Linked DNA regions of Homo sapiens: region 2 is linked to region 1. Evidence: promoter capture Hi-C in 16 types of primary human blood cells and fetal thymus (Javierre and others, 2016). All regions are on one chromosome and are shown on one strand. Each heading gives the region's core, a stretch centred on a gene start or on the middle of the fragment in contact. The rest is flanking DNA. Distances are from core to core; before and after follow the strand shown. Region 1 holds the start of AHCTF1 (AT-hook containing transcription factor 1). Region 2 overlaps CEP170 (centrosomal protein 170).

Region 1 (3,932 bases), core at 967-3,466:
CACATCTGATAACTGAAGCCCAGAGAGGTCACTTGATTTTCCTAATGTCACACAGCTCACTAGCAGCACACCTGAGTTGATAATTCATGTCTTCTGACTATCGAGAGGTACAGTACTCATGAACTGGGCATAAAACAGTGCCAAAGAAAGTGTAGAATATGGAGCATGTGACATAAATCAGCACATCCAACAGAGGGTGGTTTCTGTTTGAAGAGATCTCTTTAAAATAATTAAGACAACGAACCCCAAACCTCCTACTGCAAAAGCAGTACTCTTTTTAACTGTTTCTATCACAACTTGGTCCAATACCTTGTGCAAACAAACATGATATGTATGGAGGTTGCTGTTACTAAAGAAACAAAAATTACAGAAAAAAGAAAATTACATTTCCAAAAGGCAGCATTATCTCTGAAAGAATATGGGCCAGGCATGATATCCATGCCTGTAGTCCCAGCTGCTCGGGAAGCTGAGGTGGGAGGATAGCTTGAGCCTAGAAGTTGGAGGCAGCAGTGGCACTGATGAGGCCATAGTGCCTGCGAATAGCCATGCACTCCAGTCTGAGCAACACAGCAAGACACAGTCTCTACAAAAATAAAAATAGGCTGGGCATGGTGGCTCATGTCTGTAATCCCAGCACGTTGAGAGGCTGAGGCAGGAGGATCTCTTGAGCCCAGGAGTAGAGACCAGCTTGGGTAACACAGTGAGACAGTCTCTACAAAAAATAAAAAATAAGGCCGGGCGCGGTGGCTCACGCCTATAATCCCAGCACTTTGGGAGGCTGAGGCAGGTGGATCACGAGGTCAAGAGTTCAAGACCATCCTGGCCAACATGGTGAAACCCTGTCTCTACTAAAAATACAAAAATCAGCTGGGCATGGTGGCGCACACCTGTAGTCCTAGCTACTCTGGAGGCTGAGACAGGAGAACCTCTTGAACCTGGGAGGCGGAGGTTGCAGTGAGCCGAGATTGTGCCACTGCACTCCAGCCTGGTGACAGAGCGAGACTCCGTCTCAAATAAATAAATAAATAAATAAATAAATAAAATAAAAAAATTAATGGGACGTAGTGGCGCATGGTGGTCCATGCCCATAGTCCCAGCTACTTGGAGGGCTGAGGTAGGAGGATCATTTGAGCCCACGAGTTCGAGGCTGCTGTGAGCCTTGATTACACCACTGCACTCCAGCCTGGGCGACAGAGCGAGACACTGTCTCAAAAATAAAAAAATTTAAAAAGCACATATGAAAGGTAACAGAAAAGTAGAAACTTTCCTGATAAAAGAGCATCTTCTTAAAATCCCTACTCTACCTCATGTTATAATCCTTTTACTTACTACTTAGTATTAAGGATACGTTCCCTATCTGTTTGAAACATGTTTGGCGCTGGGATTTGCTTCAAAGGAAGATACTAACAAGAAATAAGAAATTCCACAATGAAAACCCGCGGTGACCAAAAAGATAACAGTGATTTGGGGTAAAATTTTGACTAAAAAGATTAGGCTAGGCTGCGCGAGCATTTTTGGCCATGAAAGCACAGGAGGATGCTAGAAAAAACAGCACCGTGGAAAAAGCGTTTCCCCAGAAGTCTGGGAGCCCACCTTTGGCATGAAAAGCGGGAGCACAGGTTGTAGTGAGCCAAGATCGTGCCACAGCACTCCAGCCTGGGCAACAGAGCAAGACTCCGTCTCCAAAAAAAAGAAAAAGAAAAAAAGAAAAGTGGGAGCACAGAACAGAAAATACAGAATGCAAGCTGCCAATTATGGGAGAAAGATTATCACTCGGCCCCCAGCTGGCAGGGCCACACGATTACGTGACAAGAGAGTCCGCCTGCAATCGCAGCAGGCGGCTGGCAGAGCCCGGCGCGACCCCCAGCGAAGACTACCACTCCCAACTGCGCACGGGGCGCGCCGCCGGGGCCGCCAGGGCGGCTTCACGCGCAAGGCACTGTGGGACTCGTAGTCTTTCTCCCCACCAGCTCCTCGGAGGCGGAGAGACCCGATTTTTTTGTAAATGATCCGCCCTTCCAGGCCCTGCTTCTCTTTCCTCCCTTTCCCTCCCACCTCCTTCTTTCACCGAGAGTTTGAAAATTCCCGCGGAGCCGGCGCTAGAGCGCGGAACCATCGCGAGAACTCTGGTCCCTGCAGCCGCGATCTCCCGCCGGTTCTCCCCTCCCTCTCCGCCCTTTCCTCTGCTCCCTCCCTTCCGGGGCGTGTGGAACTCGGTTTTGTCGGCGCAGGGTAATGCGCAGAGCGGGGCCGGCGCTGTCCGAGGCGAGCAGGCAGCGTTGCAAGGGGAAGGACCCAGAAGCGCGGCGGGAGCAGCGACTGCGTTTTAGCCGCTGAGCGGTCTGCAGGCCTACAGCCCGCGAAGGCACTCTCGGGGGCGTGTGGCTCTGAGGTGGCCGGGGAGGTCGCAGGCGGCGGCCGGAGCGCAGAGGAGCGGCTTCAGCCGGGCGGAGGGGTGTGAGCCCGGCCCGTGGCGGCCACGTCTCCCGGGAGATGCTGTGACGGACCCGCACGGGAGGAGCTCGCGCCTGGCCTGGCGACCCGGTGGACTCGGCCCGCGGCGGCGCGCTCACCCGCCCCGTTCAGGTAGGGGGAAGGGAGGGAGGGGGTTGGGCCCGCGCGGCGGAGGGCGGGTCGCGCGGCCTGGACCCGCGGCGGCGGCGGCGGCGGCGGCGGCGGCGGCGGGGCTTCTGCCCCGCGAGCGCCGGGCCTAGGCCGGGCGTGCGCGGGGCCAACGGATGGGGCTCGAGGGGGCGAGCGGTGGCGGTGGCGGGTACGGCAGGCTCGCGGGCGCCGGGCTTCGTTACATAATCTCGGACCGGAGGAGCGGCGGCACATGGCGGCGGAGCGGCGCTGGTGGTTCGCGTCCTGCGCCGGCAGTCGGGTCCCTTTACGGACGGCCGGGGCCGCGACCCTTTCCCACTGTTCTCCCACGCGATGGACTCGTTGGCGGGCCTTTCCCCGAGGGAAGCGGCCGGCGTGCTGAGCCTGTCCTGTGTTGGCGTGTGTTCCACATGCGCTTGGGCCTGGCCACAGTGAGTAGTCCTGGCGGGGAAGAAGTTGGACTCGGGGCTCAGCCGTGAGGTTCCAGCTCACCCGATTGGTCAGATCAAGGAGATTTAAAATAAAAGCACATCTTGGGGTGCTTTGCCTTCCTTTTTCCTACCTGGGAAACAGGACGGTTTCTTTTGCCACTGGTTGACTGTTTTGGTTTGGGTGTTTTGTTTTGAGAGATGGGGAAATTTTGTTCTCAAAGCTTACGAGGTTCATACTATCTGTGTGCAAAGTTTTATGAGATGAGCGTTATTTTTATTTCCAAATCGTCAGTTGTAGAAATTTTTGGAAGAACTGGGTTCTTCATAGAACAAAACGTAAATCCTTTGGGGAAATCCTAAACGATATTTATTCTCAGAATATCCTAAAGAACCTGTAGATTTTAAGAACTGTCTTTGGCTGGGCGCAGTGGCTCCTGTCTGTAATCCCAGCACTTTGAGAGGCTGAGGCGGGAGGATCGCTTGAACCCAGGAGTTTGAGACCAGCCTGAGCAACATGGCGAGACCCCCCCTTTTTTTTTTTTAAACTGTTTTTTTGTGAGCTTTCACTGATAGAGTCTCTTAGGAGAGAAGAAATTAGAGTGGTTTACTTATTTCGGAGGATTTGACCTGGGATGACAAGCCCAGTTAAGGTTAATACTTGAAGGGATGTTTTAAGTGTGCCAAGCGCTATGGGAAGTCTACGTTGTCTCTGTACTGTGATTTTTGGATCCTGATCCTTCAGTAACATACTACCAAGCTGTCACGAGTTTGCAAACAACAATAATTATCTTGAAAAAATTTTTAAAACATCATGTCAACCGGGAATTGGTGGCGCCTCTAGTCGCGCGCCTACTTGGGAGGCTGAGGCGGGGGGAACGTTTGAGCTTCAGCCTCAAA
Region 2 (3,932 bases), core at 813-3,312, 3.7 Mb after region 1:
CACAAAAAAATAGCCTCTTTATCCACTATGCTACACCTTGAGAACTATCTTAGAGTGGTTAGGGAATCCCTCTTTCTGAGGTGACATTTAGCAGAGAACTTGCATTAGGTAAGGAAGCATCTTGTAGGTATCTGAGTGGAGAGTATTCTACTCAGGTGCGGTGGTTCTGAGGCAGGAATGGGATAAGTGAATTTGGAGAACACTGTGGCTGAAGGTGAGTGAGGAAAAGGTGCTTATAGGAGGAAATGAGGTTGCATAGAGATTTTATTCATTGATTTTAAGTGCTATGAGCATTCATTGGAGGATTTTGAGCAAAGCCAAAAAATTGGGTTATATTTTTAAAGAATGGCTCTGGGAATTCTTTAAAACACTGGGAACCATGAGATAAGCTAGGAAATGATTGGAATGATCTGGTTTAAGAGACATTAATGGCTTAGACTAGAGCGACAGTAGTGGCAATAGTGAAAGTTACTAGTTTCTGGCTTTAGAGAGTCAAATGTTTTGGATATGTTAAGTTTGAAGTGTCTGTTAAACGCCCAAGTGGACACATCAGGTAGGCAGTTAGATATGTAAGTCAAGCATTCAGAGGAGAGGTTTGGACTGAGGATAGTTAAATGTTAAGCATCACCAGTAGACTTAAAGGGATCTCTTGGCTAGGGAGTTAGACTGAGAAGAGATCCAAGAATTGAGAATTGGTACTTTCCACATGGAAAGCTGAGCAAAAGAGAAGGCGCCATCGAGGAGGATTGAAAAGTGGACAGTGGGGTGTGAGGAAACTGAAGAGTGTGTTGTCCCACAAGCCAAGTAAAGGAAGTATTTTTAGAGATAAGGAGTGATCAGTCCCCTGTATCACCTTTAATCACCTAAATACTTCATAAGAAATCAGGCAGTATCCTCTTTCTTTCTGAATGGTCTCTGAGAAAGCAATTTCCTTTTTTAAATCTGGTTTATCAACATGAATGTTCACAGTTATTCTCCCCTGGCAACTACTAAATCTAAAGCCCTGAACAAAGTTTTACTCATAAAGAGGCCAATGCTGTTTCCTACGTGGATGAGTATGGCAGCTGCTGCTGCCTCTGATGTTTGAACAGGAGAAGCGATGCTGTTTCATAGGAAGAATTTATCAGGAAGCTAGTGATAGTCCAGCTACCTCAGAGGTTTATTGTGGTAGCCAAACGAGGTAGATGTAAAAACCAAATGAAAGGTATAATTGCAGATAGGGGTCTCCTTCCCTTATTGCCCCAAGTGTGGTACCAACTTGATAGTGTTAGATTTGAAGAACTATGTTGGCAAATAAAAATATTTTTCATTTTGAGTCTGTAGGAATAGTTTTTTACTTCCTATGCACTCTATCCCGATAGGCAGTTTCGCACATCATTTTATAATATTCTTGAGGGTAGAGAAAAGGGCTAGAAAGAGGATAAGAACAACCAGGGCAGGCGCGGTGGCTCACGCCTGTAGTCCCAGCACTTTGGGAGGCCGAAGCGGGTGGATCACCTGAGGTCAGGAGTTCGAGACCAGCCTGGCCAACATGGTGAAACCCCGTCTCTACTAAAAATACAAAAATTAGTCAGGCGTGGTGGCGCAGGCCTGTAATCCCAGCTACTCAGGAGGCTGAGGAAGGAGAATTGCTTGAGCCCAGGAGATGGAGATTGCAGTGAGCCAAGATCACGTCACTGTACTCCAGCCTGGGCAACAGGGTGAGACTCCATCTCAAAAAAGAAAGAAAAGAACAACCAGGCTTTGAGATAATAGCTTTTTTTCCCAATCCTAAACTCATCCTTTAATTCTAAACAGTGTCTAAATAAAGAGAATTGAGGTAGAAAAGTAAGCAAGTTAAAAGGCTTCCTTACTTTTTTTTTCCCTAGGCCAGCCAGGAAGACTTTCTTCTTTTAACTGACTTTTTTCTGGAAAGTGTTCAACTGAGTAATGGTTTGTCACATGTTACATGGAATAGAAAAAGTGCAAATTCAAAGCTTAGGGACTGGTTAGGGGTTTTGAACTCTAGGCAGCCAGCTAGAAACTGATTTGAGGAAGCAGGAGGGTGGGGGAAATGAGTCTGCTTGATGATAATAGGGGTAAAGTGCAAAATACTTATTTTGGTGAAAAAGGAACATCGCAAATACAGGACTTTTTGTGGTAAGCTTTTTGAGGCAATAGGACTATAACTTCACAATACATAGGTATCTTGCAGACCTTATATAATATGATTTGCTATGGCTGGTCATTAAATACTTCTCCTTGGATAAAAAATGCATATAATGCATTGCAAATTGAAGGCCATTTTATTTTTTATATTACAAATCTAATCCTAATACATGGCAGAAAATTTAGAAAACAAGATTTTCTACCATTAAGTACTATCATAATCCCACTAGCCAGTAACCCTGTTATGTATTCTTGTCTATTCTGGTTTAATTTGGTAACATTTTATCATGAAGTTAAACTTTCTGGCTCTAACTTTTAATGTGGCATAGAATCTGTCTTCTCAAACATGTAATCTACTTACACACAATTTATGAAAATTAAATGTATTTTTAAAATTGTAAACAACAGGCCGGGCCCAGTGGCTCATGCCTGTAATCCCAGCACTTTGGGAGGCCGAAGCCAGCAGATCACTTGAGGTCAGGAGTTCAAGACCAGCCTGGCCAACATGGGGAAACCCTGTCTCTACTAAAAATACAAAAATTAGCTGAGCGTGGTGGTGCACACCTGTAATCCCAGCTACTCGGGAGGCTGAGGCAGGAGAATCGCTTTAATCCAGGAGGCAGATGTTGTAGTGAGCTGAGATTGCTCCACTGCACTCCAGCCTGGGTGGCAGAGCGAGACTCTGTCTCAAAAAAAAAAAAAAAAAAAAAAAGTAAACAACACTGTAATGGACATTTCTAACTCTGAATTTCTGTGCAAATCAATGTTTTTCTTTGATTTCAACAAATTATGCTTAAAATACAATGCAGATACAAATGCAGAATTCTACTAATTAAACCTTTTCTAACTTTTTAATAAAATTACCCCCTCCAGTTTATATCAGTTTATTCTTCTACCACTGGCATATGAAACTGTGTGTTTCTTCACCCCTTCATCAGTGCTGAATATTACGTATCTTTTTTAAAATTTGCTTTCTTTTTTCTTTTTTTTTTTGAGACGAGGTCCCGCTCTGTTACCCAGGCTAGAGTGGAGTGGTGTGTTCATGGCTTGCTGCAGCCTTTACCTCCTGGGCTCAAGGGATCCTCTCCGCTCAGTCTCCCAGGTAGCTGGGACTGTAGGCATGGGCTGCCATGCCCATCTAAGTTTTTTTGTTTTCTTTTCTTTTTTGTGTTTTTTTTGTTTTGTTTTTTGTTTTTTGTTTTTTGTTTGTTTGTTTTGTTTTCTTGAGATGGAGTCTTGCTCTGTCGCCCAGGCTGGATTGAAGTGGCGAGATCTCGGCTCACTGCAACCTCTGCCTCGCGGGTTCAAGCAATTCTTCTGCTTCAGCCTCCTGAGTAGCTGGAATTACAGGCACACACCACCACACCTGGCTAATTTTTGTATTTTTAGTAGAGACGGGGTTTCACCATGTTGGTCAGGCTGGTCTTGAACTCCTGACCTCGTGATCCGCTCACCTTGGCCTCCCAAAGTGCTGGGATTACAGGCGTGAGCCACCGCACTGGCCAAGGTTTTTTATTTTTTTATAGAGACAAGGTCTCATTTTGTTCCCTAGGCTGGTCTCAAACTCCTGGGCTCTAGCAGTTTTCCTGTCTCAGCATCCCAAAGTGGTGGGGTTACAGGCATGAGCCACCCAATCTGGACAGTTTTGCCACTTTGATGAACAACAACCAAAAAAAAAAACCTTATTTAAATTTCTTTTATCAATAACACTTGACATTTTTTTAAAATGTGCTTATTGGCCATTGTATTTCTGATCTGAGTTGCTTGTATGTGTGCCTTTTGCA

The links. The method cuts DNA at HindIII sites, captures the fragments that hold promoters and counts their contacts. A CHiCAGO score of 5 or more calls a contact.
Region 2: a fragment that was not itself captured here is called in contact with the fragment with the promoter of AHCTF1 in region 1 in 1 of 17 cell types (total CD4 T cells); the score reaches 6.9 in total CD4 T cells.

What each region holds. Positions count from the first base shown.
Region 1 is chr1:246,930,232-246,934,163 of GRCh38, reverse strand. It overlaps AHCTF1 (AT-hook containing transcription factor 1), which reads left to right and starts at 2,216. Exons shown (of 36, transcript NM_001323342.2): 1 at 2,216-2,586. RefSeq lists enhancers at 1,834-1,883, 3,004-3,093 and a silencer at 2,564-2,663. The HindIII fragment of the contact is 4,479 bases long and covers 1-3,258 here.
Region 2 is chr1:243,245,155-243,249,086 of GRCh38, reverse strand. All of the region lies in intron 1 of CEP170 (centrosomal protein 170), which reads left to right. Among named protein-coding and RNA genes, the nearest start is that of CEP170, 8.2 kb to the left of the region's middle. The HindIII fragment of the contact is 168 bases long and covers 1,979-2,146 here.